2 separate regions of the Homo sapiens genome follow, and region 1 is linked to region 2. Evidence: promoter capture Hi-C in human tissues and cell types (Jung and others, 2019). All regions are on one chromosome and are shown on one strand. The core of a region is centred on a gene start or on the middle of the fragment in contact, and the rest is flanking DNA. Distances in the headings are between cores, read along the strand shown.

Region 1 (5,844 bases), core at 1,422-3,921, 450 kb before region 2:
ACCATTCCATTTATTTATTTTTTATTTTATTTTTGAGAGGGAGTCTCACTCTGTCTCCCAGACTGGAGTGCAGTGGCACGATCTCGGCTCACTGCAACCTCTGCCTCCTGGGTTCAAGCAATTCTTCTGCTTCAGCCTCTCTAGTAGCTGGGATTACAGGCGCCCATCACCACGCCTGGCTAATTTTTGTGTTTTTAGTAGAGACGGGGTTTCAGCATTTTGGCCAGGCTGGTCTCAAACTACTGACCTCAAGTGATCCATCTGCCTCGGCCTCCCAAAGTGCTGGGATTACAGGTGTGCACCACCACGCCCGGCCTCAACCATTCCATTTAAATAGTCCTGTTCCACCCTCTGTTCCCTTACTCAGCTTTGTTTCTTTTTACAGCACGTAAGCTCCATGAAGGCAGGACCTTAGTATTGGTCATGTTTTTTCCCCCGACAGCGAACCATTCCTTCAGCAAGTACTGGTCATGTTGGTAGTCTCAATCCTAGAACAGTGCCTGATATACAATAATCACTCAATACATGTTTGTTGAATTCATGACCCAAATATTCTAGGGTATTGCCAATCTGGAGGCAAGAAGTTGAAATCTAGAGCCAGTTCTATTTTTTTAAATTAAAAACAAGCTGCCATGAGGGCTTTACAGCTTTTGGAATTGAAAACATTCATTCCCTAAACCTAGCCATTGAAGTTCTAGACATTTATTCCATAGAAATAACTGGACAAGTACATAAGAGGCAATTGGAGCCTGGTAATACCAGATATTCTCATTTTTCAAGAGAAGTCTGATAGCAGACATAAAAGTGAAATACCAGGATTTAAAAAATCTTGGCAACTAATTTGAAAAATAGTTAAAATTAGGGAGCCTAAACAGAATGGCTGTGGGCCAGATTTGGCCTGCATGCCACTAGTTTATAACTTCTCCTTTTATCCTCTGCAGACACAGATCCAGAGAAGCGAGGCCACTTTCTAGGGCCTTAGTGACAGAGCAGAACAGGAACAGGGACCAGCGATTATCTGGCCATCACCTCAGGCTGCCTGCCTCAACACCCAGGGACCTGGTAAGCTGATTTACAGGTGATCGTTTCCCTGGGCTCTTCCATGGTTTCTCTGTAGCTCCGTCAGAAAGGGGTGGCAGGATGAAGGGGCTATCAATCCCCGCCCACTTTGACAAAGGTGCGAGGATGGGGTAGTGGAGGTCGGGGGGTGAGAGCAGCATGCCCTACGTGGATGCCTATGGAGTATGGGAGGATTTCATTCCCGTGGGGTCTCTCTGCCTGTTACCATGGGCAACCAGAGGGGTCCAGCTATAGCTGCAGACAAGCATCTGTTGACTCAACTCGTCCAAGCAAGTGAAGGAGGTTCTGGATCTGAGGTGAAGACCACAGCCTGGAATTGGCGGGACAGGCAGGCTTAGCACTATGTTGTTACCCACTAGTCTTGGGTAGAGGTGGGGATTGGGAGTAGGGAGCATGACTTTTAGCATCTGCATCTGGGTAGAGGTGGGGACTGGGAGTAGGGAGCATGACTTTTAGCATCTGCTTTTCCCAGGGTTTAAGGCAAGAGCTGAAGATTGTGCCTAAGGTGGAAGCAAACGGGAAGCCAGAAAAGTGCCAGTTGATGGCAATTAAGCTAAAACAAACAAGAAAGCAAATCAAAGTGTTCATTTGCCCATGGTCACTCTTCTACCCTTGGGTTCTGAGAAAAACATTTAATTAAAAAAAATTTTTTTTTTTTAAAAGACAAGTCTTGCTCTGTTGCCCAGGCTGGAGTGCAGTGGCAAAATCATAGCTCACTGCAGCCTTGAGGCTCCTGGGCTCAAGAAATCCTTCTGCCTCAGCCTCTCAAGTAGCTGGGACTACAGGTGTGCACCACTATGCCTAGCCCTTAATCAAACTTTTGTGGGTTTTCTTTTCGTTTGTTTGTTTTGAGAGGGAGTCTCACTGTGTCTCCCAGGCTAGAGTGCAATGGCGTGATCTCGGCTCACTGCAAACTCCACCTCCTGAGTTCAAGCGATTTTCCTGCCTCAGCCTCCTGCATAGCTGGGATTGCAGGCTTGCACGACCACGCCCAGGTAATTTTTTGTATTTTTAGTAGAGATGAGGTTTCACCATGTTGGCCAGGCTGCTCTTGAACTCCCAACCTCAGGTGATCCACCTACCTAGGCCTCTCAATGTGCTGGGATTACAGGCCTGAGCCACCATGCCCAGCCCTTAATCAAACTTTTAAGAAAAGTGATATCCAGATGATCAGCCTTAGTCTTCTAAATCTCATTGCGGGTCTAAAGTCAAATGCCCAGTGCACATCTGCATTCTCACCTGCCCAGCACCCATTCCCCCTTCTGGTAACAGTGCTCTGGCCTTCCACATGCAACCATCTGTCTCTCTTTTTCAGTCCATGAGGGCTGGGGGGCTAATCCAGTCTCTTTCCCCTTCCCCCCTGTCTTTTATTTTATTTTATTTTTGCCCCAGAAGTCAGCACTAGTTCCAGGCCTAGTCAAATAGTGATAGTATATTTCATCTCCTTGGCTATGATGATTGGTGTAAATTGGTCAATGAGAGTCAGTCCCAGGATTTGGAAGTTGTGCAGGGAACAGGAAGTGAAGTTCCTTTTTACTGGAGCTGCTGATCACCACCTTCCTATGCCTGAAGAGAGATGTCCTGAGAATAAAACCAACTCAGGAAAGCAGAGCCCACAGGCATAGAGGTGACATCATCTGAGCACCTGGATCCAGCTGTGGCTGGGGTTTTCATTTACTTAGGTTAGTAAATGCCTTTTTTTAGCTTAAGCAATTTATATTGGAGGTCTACATTTGCAACTGAAAGGGTTCTAACAAATACAAATGGAATGAGTGAAAGGGGGCAAAGAATGAAATCTATGCCCGTTACCTTCTTGCTGTTTTCTGTGAGCCACTGAATTCTCTCTTGATAGACTTCAATAGTGCTGTCAAGACATCAGAAAGACTCATCACCCAAGGCCAGCGTCATCACTGAGCAACAGCCACTTACATACACAAAAGGCAGGTATGAATAATTGTTTTTTTTTTTAATGTGCATAGGTTCTTGGAAGAAGGTGGTGAACCTTTTAGGTGCACTGTAGTGCACGCCTGTAGTCGTGGCTACTCAGGAGCCTGACGTGGGAGGATCACTTGAGGCCAGGAGTTCAAGACCAGCTTAAGCAACCTAGTGAAACCCTGTCTCTACAAAAAATAAAAAAATTTGCTGGGTATGGTGGTGCATGCCTGTAGTCCCAGCTACTCAGGAGGCTGAGGTGGGAGGATCACTTGAGCCCAGGAGTTCAAGGCTGCATGGAGTTATGATTGTTCCACTGCACTCAAGCCTGGGCACAATCGAGGAAAGACAAAACTGAAGATACTTGTTTGCCAGGGCACTAGGTATAAGGAGATTGTGAAAGGGATCGAGTGTATAGGTGCTGCTCTATTGGTGACACAGTGCACAGGATAAATGACAACGGTTTGGTGGATCAAGGGGTGGAATCAGGCCCTCCCAGACTTCAACCTGCTCATGTAACCTCGTCTCCTTTCTCCACATAGCTCACTCACTCTGTGCTCACTCTGCCCGGTGAGGGCAGGTCTGTGGAGGGTGGGGGAGGGTGTTCTTACGAGAAAGTTGGAAGACCACCCTTGCACTTGCTCAAATCTGTGTCTTCTCAGAAGGAATTGTTCCTAGTCTCCTGGAAACTGATCATAAAGGCACAACAGAGGCAGTTAAGCAATCGTTTCTACTGGATTGATTAACAAAAAACCTAGTTTCTGAAAAGTAGCTGGGGGACCTTCTTGAACTTGCCTTATTGCATGCCTGGCTTGCAATGACTGGTTGAAGACTAGCATATATCATATGCACAAGGTAAGGACTAGGTCACTTTAATTTAATTGACTTGTTCTTACTGGGGGCAGGTGAGATTTGGGGGCCTAGAGAGGGACAAAAAAGGTCTTTGGAAATGAGATCATGGGGCAGTGGGTGGTAGATAGAGTCATAAGGGATACATGAGTTATGAATAGAGCTAAGAAGATGAGCTTTATTTTTATCTTCTTCTTCTTTTTATTTGAGACAGGGTCTCACTCTGTTGCCCAGGCTGGAGTGCAGTGGTACGATCATGGCTCACTGCAGCTTCAACCTCCCTTGGCTCAGGTGATCCTCTCACCTCAGCCTTTAAGTAGCTGGAACTATAGATGCACACCACCACACCTGGCTAATTTTTATATTTTTTGTAGAGTTGGGGTTTCATCATTTTTCCCAGGCTGGTCTTGAACTCCTGAACTCAAGCGATCCTCCTGCCTTGACCTCCCAAAGTGATTACAGGTGTGAGCCACTTGTGCCCAGCTGAAGATGAGCTTTATAATAAAATATGTTTGTGTTTGAGATACAGCTCTGCCATCTACTAGCTGTGTGACCTTGGACAGGTGTGGTAACCTTTCTGAGCCCCAGTTTCACCATCTCCAACATGAAGGTAACAACAGGATTCTATCCAAGTCAATTTGCTAAAAGTCAATTTACTGAAAGCCAGTCCTCTGAAAATCAATTTGCCAAATGACCAGTTAGCTAAATAGACTTGAACATTCCTTAAAATACTGGATTCACAATTAAAACTGATAAACCAAGACATTGCAGAATTCTTTAAAACCTGTTTAAGCTTCCAACCTAATAAAAGTTACTATAAATTCTACAGTTAAATGGTTTTGAGAAATTTGAGCAACTGGTCATTCCATGAATGGCCATTCAGCAATTGACTTTTGGTTAACTGGCTTGAGAGTGATGGTTTTATAAGGGGAAACCCCTTTCTCTTGATTCTCATTCTCTCTTTCCTGGCTGCCTTGTAAGATGTCCCTTTGCTCTTCCTTCATCTTCTGCCATGAATGTGAGGCCTCCCCAGCCATGTGGAACTGTGAGTCCATTAAACCTCTTTCTTCTGTAAATTGCCCAGTCTCGGGTATGTCTTTATCAGCAGCATGAAAATGGACTAATACACATGTGCTATCAAAATCTGGTTTAGGAGTGGGGATGCATGCATGTTTTTGGCATATATTTGCAAAGTTATGAACGCAATCAATTTGACATTGAAAGTCATTACTCTTAACCATTAAACACCAGATGAAGCTGTGTCATCCAAGGGACTATGGATTTCATTTTATATTTTTTTAGAGATAGGGTCTTATTTTGTTGCCCAGGCTAGAGTGCAGTGGTGTGATCATAGCTCACTGCAGCCTCGAACTTCTGGGCTCAAGTGATCCTCCCACCTTGGTCTCTCAAAGCGCTAGGATTATAGGCATGGACCACCATGCCTGGCCCTAGACTATGGATTTGAAAAGGCTGAGAGACACTGATCTGGTCCAACCTTTCTATTTGAGAAAAGGGGAAATTGGGGCTAGAAGTGGGAAGAGACATGCTCATCTCCCTGAGTGGTAGTTTTTCCTTTTTTTTTTTTTTTTTTTTGAGACAGGGTCCCACTCTATTGCCCAAGGTCCCACAGAGATTGCTGTTTGAACAAAGTTACTTCCAGGCTACTGAAATGACATAATTCTTTCTTTTTCTTTTTCCTTTCTTTTTTTTTTTTTTGAGACAGAGTTATGCTCTTGTTGCCCAGGCTGGAGTGCAATGGTGTGTTCTTAGCTCACTGGAACCTCCACCTCCCGAGTTCAAGCGATTCTCCTGCCTCAGACTACAGGGTAGCTGGGATACAGGCATGCACCACCAGGACTGGCTAATTTTTTAAAAAAATATTTTTAGTAGAGACAGGATTTCACCATGTTGGCCAGCCTGGTTTCAAACTCTTGACCTCAAGTGATCCACCTGCCTCGGCCTCCCAAAGTACTGGGATTACAG
Region 2 (5,770 bases), core at 3,262-5,761:
CACTTTGGGGCAACCTGCCTCCTTGAACATCCATCACTTCTGCTTGACAGTCTAACAGCAACCCCTGATTTTAACAGACAGTTTATAAAGAAGCAAAACTCAACTGTACAAGAACGACATTAAGTTTTCTCATTTCCTCTTTCTATTTTTACAATCTATGGTGCTAAGTATTTGTACTTCACTTACTTGAATTCCTGGAAAAAAATCATTAGAACACACCAATAACAATTTTGCATAAATCACATAACCCAACTCTTATTATGACTGCACAGTAACAGTGGAAGATATTGGTGTGAGGATGTGGGAATGCAGTTCTTAATGAATAATAAAGTAATTCTTCAGGTTTTAATTCGCCTTTATACCCAGGTGTTGGAGTGAATGTGTTGATCTGATGACTTCTATGAGCATATAAATGAGAATACTTAATGAAACACCTGGATGAAAAAAGAAATAAAGTAGTGAGGATAACATATTGTTAATAACCACAATCTCATATTGACATTTCTGTTATTACTGAGATTTCAGATTCTGGGTTAAATGCTCTGCTCTTTGGAATATCCACGATGGTTATTGATCTTGCTAATGGGTTCCTCTATGGCAGCATTTCTGGGTTTATGGTTGGAGGCACTCACGGATTCCAGAATGCATGAGTCTGACACGGTCTTCATCAAACCATATTCTTGGCAAATAATAAACTCCTTTAAGGATTTCAGGGAAGAGCCAAGCTCTGGGAGAGAGGTATATAAGTGTAGAGTAAGAAGTTGAATTAAAACATTTTTAGTTGCATTTTGTCAGTAGACAAAACTGAATGTTTCAATTCTGAGAACCTGAGATTGTCCAGAAAAAAACAAAGTTCAGTGTATGGGACATGAGTGATCACAAAGTCAGAACCAGGTTATTTTGCATTTTTCACAGCAGCATTAACTGGGGGGGTGGGGGGAGGGGTCCCTGAAGTTCTGTATCTGAATGAGGCTGGGTTTTTGTTTCTGTTTTTTTTTTTTACTGACTCAGTGTTCACTGCAATTTGCAATAATCTCCCCTTCCCCCAAGTCTGAAGCCTTCCTTCCCCCCTATTCAAATTGTCTGCGTCATTCTCATAATGCTACTATTTGGGTACTCCTGAAGCCAAACCAATAAAAAATGCTAGGGGAGCTTTATATGAATTCAAACATGATGCCAAAGTCATCTCCAAAAAAGTTTATTAGCATGATTAAAAACATTTTCTTGAATAATAACAGAAAGAATTTCTAAACATGAAAGAATATCAGTGGCTATACCTTAAAACCAGTATTTGGAATTGAATGGACAGCTTTATTGCCAGTCTTCAAAAAACAATCCATTGATTGGTTCCATGAAGTCGTGACTATTGCTTTGTCTGGGAATGAGTCCCTACTGCAATTAAGTATAAAAAATATCTTCCATCATAATTGGAGTGTGACCTGCATTGGAGAGTGGCTCTGAGTAAAGAGTTGATAAAAATCCACAAAGAGTTGGGTTTTTGTCTTTTAAAAACATTCCTTTACACACTACAAAGAAATAATTAGTATTTTGGCTTTTTAAATTCCTACATGATATTTAGAATGGCGGTCCCCAAGGGTCCTCCCTTCACGTAATTGTGAACACAGACCCTCTTCCAAGGGCACATCCCGGAGGGTGCGGACTCTGAAGACTTCGACCTCCACGTGTTTATACTGGTTTGAGAACAAAGACAGCGTCATCCAGAACGTAGTAGTCATTATACATGTCGCCTTCACACAGGTATGGTAGTCTGGTGAAAGCTTCGATAACAAAACCAGCTTTTCTGAAAACTTCAGGCAGACTATTCACTTGTTCTTCCCAGTTCTGTCCTTTGATTTCCAAAATTTCTGATGGTTTCTCCCACTTGCCACCTACTAATACAAATAAGAACATTCAGTTAAATTCTTGAACAAACAAGTGATTTAAAGAGGGAAGCAGGGAGGAGCCATATCTACCAAGGACTTGGTACGTTCCAAGCCTGAGGGCTTCATGAGTTACCTCTTTTGTACTTCCCAGGTACTCTTTGAGACAGGTGGGCAGATAAAGAACAGACTCAGAAGGGGTGAAGAACTTGCCCACGCTTGCAAGGTTAATGAGTGTCAGTATGGAAATGTAAGCCCAGGTTTGTCTGGATCCAAGGCCCCACACTGTTATCTTCTCTGACAGTTTTGGGTAGTATCTGCCAATAGACTGACTGCAGGGTGTAATGGTTAATGGGTTTGGAAAACTGGTCATTAAATGCTGGAATACTGAAACAGAGAGCAACATGTAATATCTGAAGGACAGTTTTGGACAAATGCAAGAAAATACCACTGGCATAGTAAACTTATGCAACTTACTACCTAGAGAGATTTATTAGGCTGAAAATAAAAACAGGCTCATGAAGGATTTTAATTTAGAAAAGCAGATCATTGGGGAGTTTTTCTAGGGAAGTTGACTCATTCTTTGCCTTTTCAGAACAATTTCATAAACATTAAGCTCCAGGACCAGAGAGAGATGGAACAGTAGGATGGATACACCGTCCAGCATTTCTTGGACTAGAGATGAAGCCTCTATCAGTCATTTCCAAACCTATGAGCAGGAGATGCCTGGGGGACAAGGGGACTAGGGAAGGTCCTCAAATTCACATACAAACCTGGCACTGACTACAGACACACACACAGAGATGACAGTATATTTAACTTTGGGGGTACTTTTTAGGTGCTATGGTGATACAAAAACTACATACATCTGTTGAAGTGTTAAAACCAGATTGAGGCCGGGCGTGGTGGCACATGCCTGTAATCCCAGCACTTTGGGAGGCCGAGGTGGGCGGATCACGAGGTCAGGAGATCAAGACCATCCTGACTAACACAGTGAAACCCCGTCTCTACTAAAAAAAATACAAAAAAATTAGCTGGGCATGGCAACATGCACCTGTAGTCCCAGCTACTTGGGAGGCTGAGGCAGGAGAATGGTGTGAACCCGGGAGGCGGAGCTTGCAGCGAGCCAAGATCGTGCCACTGCACTCCAGCCTGGGCGACAGAGCGAGACTCTGTCTCAAAAAAAAAAAAAAAAAAAAAAACAAAACAGACTGAGAATAACTTTCTGTTAATGAGAAAATATATCATGAGCAGATGCCAAGGGCACAGACATCATATCATGGTGGGGAGATTTTTCATAATTTTCAGTGGTGCAGATGACGCTCTTCCCATGTCTGGGGAATTGCCTGCCCAGAGTCTGGGAGAGACACAAGGCCTGGGAGCCGCTTTCCTGGCCTGCCGTGCAGCTGAGGCACTGGCACGCAGCCTAAGCCAGGCACACTTGCCCATGCCCTGGAATGGAGAGCCAGTGACCCAGAGTAGTGGGGATGTGAGCTTCTCCTTCTCTGGGGGTGGAGCAATGGCAGTGAGACCAAGGGGCTGGGGCAGTGGTTGAGCGATGCTGACAACAGGGCTGATGGCACCTAGTGTTTGGCAGTGGCAGTAGCATCCTCTTCAGACCTGTTTATGGTGTGATTTGAGGCATTCTTCCTGGCTGTGGACCCCACACAAGATTCACTAGCCCTCCCAGTGACTCTAGGATCTACCTTCAAATGTTTGCATAAATTTCCTTTTAAGTCAGCCTGAGTCTGTTTCTGCTGCTTTACAAAGAAGACCCTTACTGAATCACCACTAAGTGCTGGGGGAGAGGACACAGAGGACAGAGGGCCCACATATTTGTTTCTCAACACATTAAAAGGGGGTCTTTGGGCCAGGCATGGTGGCTCACACCTGTAATCCTAACACTTTGGGAGGCCAAGGCAGGGGGATCGCTTGAGGGCAGGACTAGCCTAGACAACACAGAATCTACAAAAAAAAAAAAAAATTAGCCAGGGGTGGTGGTGCATGCCTGTAGTCCCAGCTACTCAGGAAGCTGAGGCTGCAATGACCTGCAATCTTGCCACTGCATTCCAGCCTGGGTGATAGAGACCCTGTCAAAAAAGGGGGGAAGGCAGGTGTCTTTGGATTCAAAACTGGAGTACAAAAAGTTAATAACAGACAATTTATTTATTCGCTGCATTAGAATGTGTTGTTTACTAACTTTTCTCATCTCTACACAAAGCCACTTCTCCTTCTGCTGTTCTTTGTTCCCAGCAGTTACTGGCCCAGAGTGGCACCCAGAGCAGGTACCCTAGACAGTGACTGAACTGTTCTGAAAAATCCAAGTACGAATTATTTGTCAAACAATACTCCTTCCTGGAAATATGTGCTAGGTGTAAATCAAAATCTCACCCAGAAACATCTAACACCTATGACAACTGTAAAATCCATGGAAAAAAAAAAGATATGCACATTTCTAAATGTGCTCCAGGCCAAAATCTCAATGTTAAATGGTGAAGCCATCCTTGCACAATTTCAAAAAGTTCCTGATTATGGTTCCTTCATAAGAGGTTCCTCTCTTCAGCTCTTCTTCCCTTCTGAAAAAAGAAAGCCAACTTTCCTTTCAAATACACACCCCAACCCGCCCCGGCATACACAGAAATGGGGACTGCGAGCAGAAGCAACATCGCTCGCCATCTGCAAACCAATCTCATTCTATTTTGTGTCGGTAAGGTTCTTTTTCTTCTCCTCCTTCATTTTATTTAAATCAACTGCTATTTTTCACCTAATGCATTTATATTTTAAGCTCCTTCAGATTAATTTTTAAATGTATAACATTATGAAAACTGCCTAAGAGGATAAGTTTCCTTTTTCCCCTGAGAAATAGACAATAAAAAAATAGCTGAGAAAAAGTTTCATATTAACCTTGAAAAGTCTCTTTGCTATTATGCTAATTGGAGACAATCTGACCAAAGGGTTGAAAATATTCTTAAAATCGTAGGTATAAGTTATCAATAATTTAATTATCATACAAACTTGATCTGCACATAGAAAGCAATAAATGATTATTTGCTGAATATTTTCAAAGAACAATTTCTATAAAAGTACTTTTCATTTAAGAAAAAAAAAACTGCCATGACTCCAATAGCCATCCCATAGTATATCTATTTTTAAAATTCTGTCTACTTCTGTTTTTTTATCTATGAAAGAGAAAGGATTTCCAATACATCTAGTAATCTCAGATTTGCCCACACAATTTGGATTATAGGGCAGGGAAGGGGGGAAAGTTCTTAATTTTTTCTCATCTGTGAAGAAATATATCAAAATGTTAATGGGAGTTATTTCAGGCAAAAGGACTATGGGTGACTTTTTGCTTCTACTTTTAATAACCTGTTTTTTGCTAATAAGTATATATTACTTTCATAGACTATTTTAATTAGCATTATTTTAAAGAAGAATTCCTGTCTTTTAGAGATATATTCTGAAAGATGCAGATAAAATGGCTGGGATTTGCTCTAAAATAATATGGGAGTGAGGGAGTAGGTGGGAGGAGAAAAGAAACAAGATTGGGTCGAAGCCATGTGATGGCAGGGGGTTGACTGTACTACTTCGCTACTTTGATATGTTAGAAATTTGAAATCTAATATAATAAAGCTTTGGGCTGGGCGTGGTGGTTCATGCCTGTAATCCCAGCACTTTGGGGGCCAAGGTGAGAGGATCACTTGAGCTCAGGAGTTCAAGACCAGCATGAACAACATAATGAGACCCCCATTTCTACACAAGAAAAAAAAATAGCTGGGCGTGATGGCACCTGCACTGCACCTGCAGTCCCACCCACCTGGGAGGCTGAGGCAGGAGGATCACTTGAGCCCAGGACTTTCAGGCTATAGGGAGCTGTGATTGTGCCACTG

What was found. The method cuts DNA at HindIII sites, captures the fragments that hold promoters and counts their contacts. A contact is called where the count stands out against the background at its distance.
Region 1: a contact is called between a fragment that was not itself captured here and the fragment with the promoter of IGSF6 in region 2, in 1 of the 25 tissues and cell types used here (lymphoblastoid cells).

What each region holds. Positions count from the first base shown.
Region 1 is chr16:22,100,575-22,106,418 of GRCh38, reverse strand. It overlaps VWA3A (von Willebrand factor A domain containing 3A), which reads right to left. Exons shown (of 34, transcript NM_173615.5): 6 at 2,890-2,944. Among named protein-coding and RNA genes, the nearest start is that of VWA3A, 11 kb to the right of the region's middle. The HindIII fragment of the contact is 8,634 bases long and covers 1-5,844 here.
Region 2 is chr16:21,651,349-21,657,118 of GRCh38, reverse strand. It overlaps IGSF6 (immunoglobulin superfamily member 6), which reads left to right and starts at 4,511. Exons shown (of 6, transcript NM_005849.4): 1 at 4,511-4,587. The coding sequence starts at 4,521. METTL9 (methyltransferase 9, His-X-His N1(pi)-histidine) reads right to left here. Exons shown (of 5, transcript NM_016025.5): 5 at 1-1,892. The coding sequence ends at 1,687. The HindIII fragment of the contact is 6,081 bases long and covers 530-5,770 here.